Regions from separate parts of the Homo sapiens genome. Here regions 2, 3 and 4 are each linked to region 1. The links are contacts of gene promoters, found by promoter capture Hi-C in human tissues and cell types (Jung and others, 2019). All regions are on one chromosome and are shown on one strand. The core of a region is centred on a gene start or on the middle of the fragment in contact, and the rest is flanking DNA. Distances in the headings are between cores, read along the strand shown.

Evidence for each region. The method cuts DNA at HindIII sites, captures the fragments that hold promoters and counts their contacts. A contact is called where the count stands out against the background at its distance.
Region 2: a fragment that was not itself captured here is called in contact with the fragment with the promoter of CD274 in region 1 in 1 of the 25 tissues and cell types used here (lymphoblastoid cells).
Region 3: a fragment that was not itself captured here is called in contact with the fragment with the promoter of CD274 in region 1 in 1 of the 25 tissues and cell types used here (spleen).
Region 4: a contact is called between a fragment that was not itself captured here and the fragment with the promoter of CD274 in region 1, in 1 of the 25 tissues and cell types used here (lymphoblastoid cells).

What each region holds. Positions count from the first base shown.
Region 1 is chr9:5,449,292-5,452,633 of GRCh38, reverse strand. It overlaps CD274 (CD274 molecule), which reads right to left and starts at 2,092. Exons shown (of 7, transcript NM_014143.4): 1 at 2,038-2,092. RefSeq lists enhancers at 1,816-1,975, 2,266-2,315. The HindIII fragment of the contact is 6,419 bases long and covers 1-2,539 here.
Region 2 is chr9:4,463,877-4,467,218 of GRCh38, reverse strand. It overlaps a transcript of GLIS3 not described here. Among named protein-coding and RNA genes, the nearest start is that of SLC1A1, 25 kb to the left of the region's middle. RefSeq lists enhancers at 1,121-1,190, 1,976-2,025, 2,036-2,085. The HindIII fragment of the contact is 6,998 bases long and covers 1-3,342 here.
Region 3 is chr9:4,691,847-4,695,188 of GRCh38, reverse strand. All of the region lies in intron 3 of CDC37L1 (cell division cycle 37 like 1, HSP90 cochaperone), which reads right to left. Among named protein-coding and RNA genes, the nearest start is that of CDC37L1, 14 kb to the right of the region's middle. The HindIII fragment of the contact is 4,245 bases long and covers 1-3,342 here.
Region 4 is chr9:4,933,749-4,937,090 of GRCh38, reverse strand. No RefSeq gene overlaps it. Among named protein-coding and RNA genes, the nearest start is that of JAK2, 50 kb to the left of the region's middle. The HindIII fragment of the contact is 7,942 bases long and covers 1-3,342 here.

The sequences.
Region 1 (3,342 bases), core at 843-3,342:
AAGGCAGAATACAAAGATCATGTAAATACACACATGTTCTTTAACCTCTAAACCTCATATCAGGGCAGTTGGTCTAAGAGAAGAAGACTGACATCTTCTTCAGGTAAGAATTATGACCATATGTGAATTCCCATATCCGAATGGAGACATTTAAAGAGCAATGAAATGTAAACTGGGGAAGAAGTGATGGCTCATTCAGGTTGGGGAAGTGGGTTTGTCCCTGGGGGAAGCCCAGTATAACACTATGGAACTAATACTACTTCTCTATCTTCCAAGGGTAGGATGGGTAGGAGGATGAGATAGAGAAAAAGTTAAGCAGCCAGGAGCAGTGGCTCATGCCTGTAATCCCAGCACTTTGGGAGGCCGAGGCAGGCGGATCACCTGAGGTCAGGAGTTCGAGATCAGCCTGGCCAATATGGTGAAACCCCATTTCTACTAAAAATACAAAAATTAGCTGGGCGTGGTGGCAGGTGCCTGTAGTCCCAGCTACTCGGGAGGCTGAGGCAGGAGAATCACTTGAACCCGGGAGGCAGTGAGCTGAGATTGCACCACTGCACTCCAGCATGGGCAACAGAGTGAGACTCTGTCTCAAAAAAAAAAAAAAAAAGACAAAAAAAACCGGTTAAACTTCCTTTCTCAAAAGTAGGAGCAAGAGGCCTGCATGGTGGCTCCCGCCAGTAATCCCAGGACTTCTGGAGCCTGAGGAGGGAGGATCGCCTGAGGCTAGGAGTTCGAGAACAGCCTGGGCAACATAACAAGAGCCCCATCTCTACAAAAACAAAAAAAAAATTCTTAAGTAGGATCAAAGATTAAGACAGTTGATTTATTAAACCTCTACTAAGTGACCAAACTTTATTAAACTCCATGAAACCCCATGCCCAACCTCCTTCTCAGTCACACTGAGACACTCTTGTACATTTTCCACATGGGGTTTCAATTCCCCACAGTATTTCTGTGACTTCCTTGAAGACCACACTCTAACTGCTGTCATGTGGCCTCTGCCTACCTACTTTTACTGAGAAAGGCTAAGTTTTTCTTCAGAGTATCATAGTTCTCCTTAAATACTGTTGACGACTGTCATTGTCAACTGATACATCCTTTCTGGAAAGCATTTTCAGTTTTCTTCAAAAGGCCTTTAAAATATTCAGGCTCTTTGACTAAGTAGTTACACTTCTAAGTTTACTTGAAGGAAACAATCAGCAATATTCCAGAGATATATATGCAATGAGTTCAGTGAATGGCTAAGACAGAACCACTGTAAATAACCTTTATACCCAACAGTGAGGAATTAATTTCATTTAGTTACCCAATCTAATCGAATGCAGCAATGAAAACATTTTTTAGAAGGTTATTTAATTCATAGAAAAGCATCCACAGTAAATTTTTTTCAAGTATTAAAAAAAGAGGTAGAACAATGGTACTTTTACTCCTTGTGTTATAAGACAAACCCAGACTGAACTTTGACATAGGCCAAGGTCAATGTGTCTAAGAAATGTTTTATTATACTATTTTTATTCTTAGGCTCCTCCATTCCTCTTTTAGGACTCCTTTGGGTTCTCAGAATGGACAGAGCAAATAAATTCCGTTCAGGGATCCTGGACCTGCTTAGCGCAGGAAGAGACTTACTTAGATGCTGCAGCTGGGATAACTTACACAAGTCATGTTACTAGCAAGCAGCTGGCGGTGGACTTGGACCCGTGTCCAGACCTCCAGCCTAGCATCAGAGCTATATTCTGAACACACAGTCGCATAAGAATGACTACCTATCCTATACTACCTATCTTATTTATTTTTAGAGGTATAAATTATTTTTAGAGCAAAACTGAATCGCGCCTGGAGGAAGGCCAGATGCATTGCCTGTTCTTATTAACCCCAACAGGTAATTGGCTCTACTGCCCCCTAGACCATCGCGTTCCCTTTCCCTTCTCCTCTCTCCATCCCAAAGAAAGGGTGTAGAGACCCTCCGTCCTAAAGTGCCCAGCGAGCTAGCCAGAGATACTGGGCCGTGGGCACCCGCGGAGGAACAACGCTCCCTACCTGCAGGCGGACAGAAGCGCGGCTGGTGCGGAGCCTCGGGAAGCTGCGCAGAACTGGGGCCGCGCGGGACGCGCCAGCTGCTCAGCGTTGCGCCAGGCCCGGAGGCGGGGTCCCGCCCACCTCTGCCCAAGGCAGCAAATCCAGTTTGCCGGGCGTTGGACTTTCCTGACCTTCGGTGAAATCGGCGGAAGCTTTCAGTTTAGGTATCTAGTGTTGGTGTCCTAGGAATAAAGCTGTGTATAGAAATGAAACAGAAAGTGAAACATGTCAGTCCAGTTTTCTTGTAAATGAGATTTTCACCGGGAAGAGTTTCGAAGATTAAAGCAAATCCACATTTAGTATGTTATTAATAAAAAAAGAAATTTACAACAAGCCAACATCTGAACGCACCTTGATTTTACCTTCAGAGGGGTAAGAGCTTAAGGTTACCCCTTAACCTTTATCAGAAAGGCGTCCCCCTTTCTGATAAAAGCCTCTTCAAGGTGACTGAACATCTTGACATAACTTGATATAACTCTACAACATATAAAAAGTCAGCAGCAGACCCATATGGCTTTGGTTTTTATTCTAGAAAGTAGGTGTGTGTGTGTGTGTATGGGTGTATAATAGGAAATATATTTTTAAATCGTGGATTCTGTGACTTCCTCAAAGTTCCTCGACATAATGAAACTTCATTTGCTTTGTCATTAAAAGAACTTCCCATCCCGAGCTACATCTTTTAAGAATGCTCAGGGTCCCTGATATTCTGCCACCCTAAGGATTAAGGCTGCGGAAGCCTATTCTAGGTGAGGGTTAAGAAAGCCCTTTTGAAAGCTTTGGGTTAGTGAATGGGCCCAAGATGACAGACGATGGTGTCATAATTTACTTAAGTATTATCCCGCGCTGAACTTCTAGGTGCTCTCTTTTCTCGAACTCCTTGACCTCAAGTGATCCGCCAAAGTGCTGATATTACAGGCTTGAGCCACCGTGCCTGTGTGCTCCCTTTTCTTTTTTTTCTCTTTTTCTAAATTGAGAAATTGGACTCTTCGTTGTTTGCCTTTCCTTCTTATTCATTTCAACTGCAGTTCAAAATACTGCATAATGAATGAATATTGAGATAGCCCTTGCATTGGTTATGACATTTGCTTCCAAAATAAGAATTTTCACATTCTGATTGTATCACAGATTTTTATTTTTATCTGGGAAATTATTGAGGCTGACACTGCCTTGATTTGGCAGGAGCATGGAGTTCTCTTTGGCCCCAATAAAATTGCAATAGGGTTTGGGCCCAGCTCAGATGTTCCTTCTTTCAAATCACTTTTGAGG
Region 2 (3,342 bases), core at 555-3,054, 990 kb after region 1:
CAGCTATTCCCTGCCCCCAGAGGTGGAGTCTACAGAGGCAGGCAGGCCTCCTTGAGCTGTGGTGGGCTCCACCCATTTTGAGCTTCCTGTCCACTTTGTTTACCTGCTCAAGCGTCAGCAATGGCAGATGCCCCTCCCCCAGCCTCGCTGCCACCTTGCAGTTCAATCTCAAACTGCTGTGCTAGCAGTGAGTGAGGCACCGTGGGCATGGGACCCGCCGAGCCAGGTGCGGGATATAATCTTCTGGTGTGCCATTTGCTAAGACTGTTGGAAAAACGCAGTATTAGGATGGGAGTGTTCCAATTTTCCAGGTACCATCTGTCACGGCTTCCCTTGGCTAGGAAGGGGAATACCCCGACCCCCTTGCACTTCCTGGATGAGGCGATGCCCTGCACTGCTTCAGCTCACACTCCGTGGGCTGCACCCACTGTCTGACAAGCCCTAGTGAGATGAACCCTGTACCTCAGTTGGAAATGCAGAAATCACCCATCTTCTGCGTCGCTCACGCTGGGAGCTGTATTCTGGAGCTGTTCCTATTCAGCCATCTTGGAACCTCCACCTAGTTCTCTCTATTAATTGGGTTTTGCCTGATACACCAACCTGCATTTCCAGTATAAATCCCATTGGTTATGATGTATTATCCTTTATATATATTGTTAGATTAAATTTGCTAACATTTAAAAAAATTTTATATCTATGTTATGAGGGCTAATGTTCTGTTATCCTACTTTCTTGTGATGCCTTTGTCTCGTTTTGGATTAAGGGTAATACTGGCCTCATAAAATGATTTGATGTTTCTTCCTTCTCTATTTTCTGAAAAAGTGTGTGTAGGATTATAACCTTAAAATATTGGGTAGAATTCATCAGTGAAGCCATCTGGGCCTGGAGTTTCTTTGTGGAAAGCTGTCAACTATGAATTTAATTTCTTTTATTGGTATTGGGCAGTTCGAGTTTTCTATTTCTTCTCAGGTCAATTTCAGTAATTTGTGTCTTACAATGAATTGTCTATTTCATCTAAGTTGTCAAATTTATTGGCATAAAGTTGTTCATTATATACCCTTGTATCTTTAAGGTCCTTTAGATCTGCACTGATGCCTTTTCTTTCACTTTTGGTATTGGTAATTTGTGTCTTCTCTTCATATTTTTCTGAATCAGTATGGTAGAAGTTTGTGAATTTTACCATTTCCTCTATCAAAGAACCAGCTCTTGGATTCGTTGATTTTCTGTATTGTTTTTCTGTTTTGTGGGCCACATTTTTAAAGTAGTCTCATCTCTGTGATCTTTTACTCTCAAATCTTGGCAATTTTCTATCAACTTCAAATGCACTTAATGCTTTCAAATAGATTTTTAAATTATGTTTTCTGGCTTTTCAAGTTGTTCTTAGCAGGAGCACTAATCTACCACATGTTACTTAGTTAGAGCCAGAGGCAGAAATCCAAGAGGTATAATTTTTTTTGAAAATTTTTTTGAATTTAAAAAATTTTTGTAGATGCATAGTAGGTGTATATATTTGTGGAATACATAAGATGTTTTGATACAGGCATGCAATATGAAATAAGCACATCATGGGGAATGGGGTATCCATCCCCTCAAGCATTTATCCTTGGATTTACAAATAAATCCAGTTACAAGAATTATTATTTATTATCTTTTCTTTTTTATATTTTTTTGAGTCGGAGTCTCACTCTGTCGCCCAGGCCGGAGTGCAATGGCATGATCTTGGCTCACTACAGCCTCTGTCTTCCGGGTTCAAGAGATTCTTGTGCCTCCGCCTCCCTAGTAGCTGGGACTACAGTTGCGTGTCACCATGCATGGCTAATTTTTTGTATTTTTAATAGAGATGTGGTTTCACCACGTTGGCCAGGCTGGTCTCGAACTCCCGACCTCTGGTGATCCCCTTGCCTCGGCCTCCCAAAGTGCCGGGATTACAGGCATAAGCCACCGTGCCCGGCCTATTATCGTTATTTAGACTAAGAATGTATGCAATGTTATATGTAAATTTCCTCCATTCTTACAGGATTATCCTTTCTCTGGTCATGAACTGAAAAATGTGCTGAAACATCTGTAACTGATGGGCAGTCCCCAAGGACTATTTTGTAAGAGGAAGAGAGAGGGAAATGTTGATTCTGGTAATGCTGTAGGTTAAGTATGCAAATATAAAGCAGAGTTTCTGAAGAAATGTGTCACTGAAGTTTGTTATTGCTAACCCCTTGGCCACATCCATTTATAGCTTGTGCAAATATGTCTGCTTAGAGGAATACACTATACTAGCTACCAGTGACAGGTTTGTGTTTTATCTTAATACCATTTTGGGGGGTTTCTTCTCATATTCACATGTGTCTTTCCATCAGGTTTAAACTCAAATGTGAAGTCTCTTCAGATCAGCATTTCCTGGCTTCAATATTCTGCATACAACCTTTACAATTTTTTTCTTCTTCTATATACCACTTATATTATTTGCCTAAGATTTTCTTTGAACTTATTTTCTTTTTATTCAATTAATGCCTTTTCAAAGAAAATATCAGGCCAGGCATGGTGGCTCATGCCTGTAATCACAGCACTTTGGGAGGCCAAAGGAGGTGGATCACTTGAGGTCAGGAGTTCAAAACCAGCCTGGCCAACATGGTGAAATCCCGCCTCTACTAAAAATACAAAAATTATGCTGGTGTTGTGGTGGGCACTTGTAATCCCAGCTGCTCGGGAGGCTGAAGCAGGAGAATCGCTTGAGCCCAGGAGGTGGAGGTTGCAGTGAACTGAGATTGTGCCACTGCACTCCAGCCTGGGTGACAGAGCAAGACTCTGTCTCAAAAAAATAAATAAATAAAATTAAAAAAATAAAATTATAAAAAATAAATAAATAAAAGAAAATATTACTATCACAAATTGAAATCAATACTGCTTGTCAAAATCATGGTAAAAATTAAAACAGTGAAACTAAAACAATTTTATTAAATGCTACAAAGAGACCATTGCCTGTTGGAGACTCTGACCCCCAGGCCTGCTCTCTTTATTAAAATAAGCAACGTTAGAGAGGTTTTAAAGTCTACATAAGCTGAGCTGTTCTCCTTAATATAATAAAAAAAACCTGACACAGAAATGAAAAGGGAGTGATTTTTTCCTGTGTGATTCTACTTTGTTCAATGATTTGCCAGTGTACCACATAAAGGCTCCTCATGTTCTACACTTTAGGACCCACTAGATTGCATCATCTCTAAGATTTCTTTCAACTTGCATCTATGACATTCCAAATTTTTTTTCTTCGAAGTATTTTTGTATTTCCTCCCTCAGTTCTCACTCAGTTCTCACTCATGGAAACTGTCCTTGACCTATACCACACGTACA
Region 3 (3,342 bases), core at 501-3,000, 760 kb after region 1:
TGATTCCTGGGACTCAGATTTAAAGAAAGCACAATCCTTATTTCTTATACTTGAACCCACAAAGTAAATCCTATGAAGCAGTTTTGCCTTAGCTTTCTTACACTTCTGGAGAGGTAATATTTTCAACTCTATCTACCATCCACGATAAAGCATTGCTCCTCTTGTTTACTTCTTCATGGCAGCATTGTGACTTACTGAAATACCAAAAGCCTTATCCATTCTGGTTTATTTTGCAGGAAGGATAACATGAAAGGGTTCCTGACACTTGGGGCCATGGGGAAGGGTATCATTAAATGTTAATTTTTTTTTTCTTTTTGTTGAGATGGAGTCTCACTCTGTTGCCCAGGCTGGAGTACAGCAACACGATCTCAGCTCACTGCAACCTCCACCTCCTGGGTTCAAGTAATTCTCCTGCCTCAGCCTCCTGGAAGCTGGGATTACAGGCGTGTGTCACCACGCCCAGTTAATTTTTGTATTTTTAGTAGAGACAAGGTTTCACCATGTTGATCAGGCTGGTCTCGAACTCCTAACCTCATGATCCACCTGCCTCGGCCTCCCAAAGTGCTGGGATTGCAGGTGTGAGCCACCACTCCCTGCCAAATGTTAATATTTTTTAACTACCTATTTAATACCTGAGACGAATTAACACTTGACATTGAAAATACATTTTTTTTTTAAATCTGAGAAATACTATCACTTGATTTCAAAAATGCACATTGAATTAGTATGAAATTGAGAAGTTCAGTTACAGGTAGTCGATACAGACCTTTGTGGAAAGAGTGTGGAATTTTATGAACAAAATAAAGACAGGTGGGGCGCAGTAGCTCACACCTGTAATCCCAGCATTTTGGGAGGCCAAGGCAGGAGAATCACCTGAGCACAGGAGTTTTAGGTCAGTCTAGGCAACAAAATGAGACCGTGTCTCCACACAAAATGAGATAATTAGCCAGGCATGGCGGAGTACACTTGTAGTCCCAGCTACTTGGAAGGCTGGGGCAAGAGGATTGCTTGAGCTTAGGAAATTGAGGCTGCAGTTGCTATGATCTTGTGACTGTAATCCAGCCTGGGTGACAGAAAATGACTCTGTTTCAAAAATAAAACACATAAGGAGAATCAACAACTCAGTGGAACAGCATATACCTCAAATTACTGATATTATTTTGGAATTTGTAAACAAACTTGTATACAAATGGAGAGTAACAATTTAAGACAGCGGCTGAGAAGACAGACTAGAGCTAAATGGCCCAGGTTCAAATACTGGCTTCACCATTTTACTACTGCAGTTCCCTTTATATGCCTCCATTTCCTCCTCTGTAAAATAGGGCTAAAAATAGTACCTAACTCAGGATTTTCATGACAATTAAATGCTATTAATTCATATAAAGCACTTAGAACAGTGCCTGAGACATAGTAAATACTCGATAAATGATAAGCACCCATTCAAAATGTTTATTTAGCTAATCCTTTGGTTAAGGATAATACAGTCATTTAAACTAGCCAAACAATTTCTCTGAATGCTTGGAAAACCTCACTTTGACAAGTTTAGATATTTTAATCATATGCTTTAACCTATATATTTCCCTAGTGAACGTCTAAATCTCAATCCATCATCAACCTTCAATATGCCACCTGATTCCTAAAATGGTCCTGAAATACACGTCCTTCCTTATTACTGATTTCCCTTTCCTCTTTCATTACACTTATAGAATTATTATTATTATTAATTAATTTATTTCTTTATCTTGAGAGACAGGTTATTCCTCTGTTGTCTAGGCTAGAGTACACTGGTGCAATCACAACTCATTGCAGCCTCAACCTCCTGGGCTCAAGAGATCCTCCCACCTCAGCCTCTGCAGTAGCTGGGACTACAGGTATAAGCCTCCACACCTGACGAATTTTTTTTTTTTTTTGTAGAGATGAGGTTTCACTGTGTTGCCCAGGCTGGTCTTGAATCCCTGGGCTCAAGTGATCCTCCAGCCTCAGTTTCTCAAAGTGCTGGGATTACAGGCAGAACCACTATGCCAGGCTTAGAATGATATATTTTAACAAACTACACTAATTCATTTTAATTTCTCTGTGTACTAAAAATCTCCCAGGTAGTTTGTGAATTACTTGAGGAAAGTTGTATGATCATTTCCCATATTCCTAAACTCCAGATCTCCTCTATTTCCAATCGTCTACCACCATATGCATTTCTACTGATATGCCTGCACGTAAACCCATCTTACTTGAAACCAAACCCATACTTGTCTCTCTGCCATCCTACAATGTTTCCTAGGCTCCATGTTACCAAATCAAGCATTCTAGAAATTCCTCTGACATTTCCATTTCTCCCACATCAAATTGACCACCAAGTCCTGTGGTTATACTACTATGATCAGTTAATACAGTGAATCACATTAATGAGTTTTCTAATGTTAAGCCATTTTGATTCTTAGGATAAACGCTTTGAAAAATTTTTTTCAGATTATAAAAATAAAGTTTATTTATTATGAAGAATTTTTAAAATCCGGAAAATAAAAGTTAGCTGTAATTCTACCACAAGAGATTACTGTTAACATTTTGATGTATTTCCTTCCAGGCATATTTTTGAATGACTTTTTAAAAAACCAAAATTAAGGCTCAGAGTGGTGGCTCACGCCTGTAATCCCAGCACTTTGAGAGGCCGAGGCGGGCGGATCATTTGAGGTCAGGAGTTCAAGGCCAGCCTGGCCAACATGGTGAAACCCCATCTCTACTAAAAATACAAAAATTAGCCAGGCGTGGTAGCAGGCGCCTGTAATCCCAGCTACTCGGGAGGCTGAGGCAGCAGGAACGCTTGAACCCGGGAGGCGGAGGTTGCAGTGAGCTGAGATCACACCACTGTACTCCAGCCTGGGGGACAAGAGCGAGATTTCGTCTCAAAAAAAAAAAAAACATTAAAATCATATACATTTTCTATTCATTTCACTTCATATGTAAGAGTGCTTTATATTAAATGTTTTTCAAAAATAAGATATTGATATGTTTTTTAAAAGCAATGAACAATTACATTGAAGAGGTTGTAAATATTCATAGTCAGAACAAACGAAAAAACTTCTATCATAGTATTTGAGCAAACTTTTATAGCTCTTGGTAAAATTTCCAGTGACAACATCCTACACAGATTAAAAAAAGCTGAATCACAGCTAACTTTGGCTGAAAGTGAAGATGATGTGCTCTGAAAATTAGATGACTCAAAAAGCAGCTCTGATGACCATAAAGCCAGTGATGTCAAACATGCATATAACTGTGAATATAACGGTTGTGAAATTTAAGAGATAAAAGCCTTTGTTTTTAAATTAATATTTTATATTTATAAAA
Region 4 (3,342 bases), core at 276-2,775, 510 kb after region 1:
GTAGAGCAGCAGACATAAAGTGTTACAGGAGTGGGAAGGGGGATCCCTGGGTGATGGTAGCAGAGGGGAAGTCAGGGGTTTCAGGAGAGATGTGGTGAATGCAGAACTTAGGCCCACAAGATCTCATGCTCCAAAAATAGGCTGAGGGAGAAAGCCATGTCCAAAAAGCAAAATGTCCCTACTTTACCAAACTCTACTTTAAAACTGAGTTTTGAACTCAGAAATATCTTCTTTGACCATTAAAAAATCCTAATGTGAATGTTGGAAGAAAGATATGTGTGTGTTTAAATATATATTACATATTAACTAAATATATATTATATATTTAATTAAAATTAAAGTAAACTTAATAGTGTAAATCACTTATGAAATTCAAAGGGAACTGCAAACTCAATTAAAAACTATTTTTTTTCTGGGGAGAGTAGCAATTCAAAGACCCAAATACAAGAAAAAATTGTAGCTTTTGTGGGTAATGGGCTTGGCTTTGTCGTTGCTGTTGCTGTTGTTCTCGTTACTTGTATTTCTTTCTGTTTCATTTCCCAGAAATAAAAACTGTTTCCCTTTCATTATTTCCACTTTCCAAATTACATTACACACTAACTGAATCAGCTTTCATTCTCCGCTCACAATTAAAGCTTCCAACCCACATTTCCCTTCTCCTGATTTTTACATGTCAGAAACCTAACTGTACAATTGGTGCCAGCTTCCTAGTTTGCTCCTACTCTTTCTAACAGCACAGCTTGGCACTTTCTTCAGGAAGCACTATAACTGTTTAAGGAGATAATGGAGACTGATATATTTTACATTACCTACCTCCATGTTATGAGTGGGAAAACCAAGGCATATCAAAGTTCAGAAGTGAAATGGAATTCTTAGGTCACAAAAAGAATCATGCGAGGGAATTGTGGACCCCTCCACGAATCTCTTGGCCAGACACTCTCTTGATGTTTATTTAGAAGAGGTAACCCTAGGGACAAGAACAGGGACTGAATTGTGGAGAGGAATCACACATAGGGTAGAGGTTGTAGGTGATGTCTAAAGTCCCTTCCGAGTCTAAGATTCTGTAAAATTGCTTTTTTGGGGTTTCTTCGAACCTTGGCTTAATGAGCCTTTCCTTGTGCCAGGTATATTCTGAGCTGGGTGCCTTCCTCTAGCCGCTTTTCTGTAAGGAAACAACTGAATGACCCAACTCCTAAATCTGGACTTCCTGCTGCTGCTGCTCTCCCAAGTCAGAAATCAAACAAAAACTAACAAACATTAAACAATAAAAACAAAAACAAAAATTAACAAACACCGAGTGAGCATATTTTGTTTACTGGCTGCTAAACTAGGTCTGGGCAAAGTTTTAATAGTTGGCAACATGACAAGAAAAACGAAACTGTTAAAACACCATGAATTTAAAAAAATAAATAAATAAGGATAATTAAAGATGTCAGCAGGAAGTATTATACAGTGATGGGGGGTGAGTGTATTGGGATTCTGTGACCTTGAACAAATTATTCAAGATCACTAATCCTTTACCACATCTGTAAAAGGGAACAATAATGGTGCATTCCTCGTAGGACAGTCATGAGGTTCAAATGAGGTGATTATGTGAAATGCTTAATGGTGCTGGAAGCACAGAGCACATATTCAGACTTGATTCATCCATTGGCTTCTCCACATGCTCTCTGTCCTTCTCCAGGCTCCCTTGCCCTGGGAGGCTAGCCTATATGGCTTCTGCCTGGGTTTGCTTGCCTGAGAGGCCCAGTAGGAGCATGGGGGAAGGAAAGAAGGGGAAAGTGAGGCGTGTATTCTCCAGCTCCCTCCCTGGAGGGTTGCCATGGGGCTGTCAAGGTTTCTTGACAGTTGGACACAAGGCCTGCAAAGTGTCCCTTCCCACACAGCCTTCAAGCCTAGATGAGGTAATGGTACCTTGCTGTGGGTCATTGTGCTCTCCCTGGCAGTTCCTTACATGCTCGCTGAACCACTGTAAATTGTCCTTCTGTTAAACTCTGCTCAGATTACCCAAATGGAGTGCACTGTTTGATAGAGTAGCCAGTAACAGCCCTAGCAGAGCAGTAGCAGTTGCAGTTATTTCGAGTATGAGATTAAGCACCAAATGAATTTTAAGACATGCAAAATACATAATTAAGCGGGAATAAATTCCCCCACCTGCAGAAGGCAGCTGAAATACCTCAGATACAGACCATCCCACATGTCTTAGACCTTTTTATAACATCCCTGAGGAATAGCTCTCTCTTTGAAAAATCTTCTCTTATTAGGGTTGCCACATTTAGAAAACAATGACAAAAACAAACAGGAAGCCCAGTTAAATTTGAATTTCCGATAAACAATAAATAGTTTTTTTTTTCTTTTTTTGAAATGGGGTCTCGCTCTTGTTGCTTAGGCTGGAGTGCAATGGCATGATCTCGGCTCACCGCAGCCTCCGCCTCCCGTGTTCAAGCAATTCTCCTGCCTCAGCCTCCCAAGTAGCTGGGACTACAGGCACGCACCACCATGCCTGGCTGATTTTTTGTATTTTTAGTAGAGACAGGGTTTCACTGTGTTAGCCAGGATGGTATCAATCTCCTGACCTCTTGATCTGCCTGCCTTGGCCTTCCAAAGTGCTGGGATTACAGGCATGAGCCACCACGCCCAGCAATAAATAGTCTTTTAAATGCATGTCACAAATATCAATGCTGTTTATCTGAAGCGTGTTCATTGTTTATCTGAAATTCAAGTTTAACTAGGTATCCTGTGATTTATTTGGCAACCCTACCTGTCATAGGAAGATTTGGACCCTTTCATTAATTGTTTCTTCAATACATACTTAAGAACACACTTGCCTTTACACTGGATGGGAAAGTCAGGCTTCATGATTGACCAGTATTTCCCCATGGAAAAATATGTTCCATATCAACCTGAGTCTGTAAGTGATGAGTATGGAGAAGCCAACCTCTGGGTCACATTCTATTCAAGATACATTGGCCGGGAGTGGTGGCTCATGCCTATAATACCAGCACTTTGGAAGGGCAAGGCAAGAGGAGTACTTGAGGCCAGGAATTCAAGACCAGCCTGGGCAACATAGCAAGACTCCATGTCTAAAAAAAATTTTTTTTAATTAGTTGGGTGTGGTGCCACATGCCTGTAGTTCTAGCTACTAGGAAGGCTGAAGCAGGAGGATTGCTTAAGCCCAAAAATTCAAAGCTGTAGTGAGCCATGACGGAGTCATGGCACTCCAGCCTGGGCAACAGATCCAGACCCTGTCTCTATTTAAAAAAAAAAAAATAATAAGTCAGACGTGGTTGCTCTCACCTATAATCCCAGCACTTTGGGAGGCCAAGGCAGGCAGATCTCTTG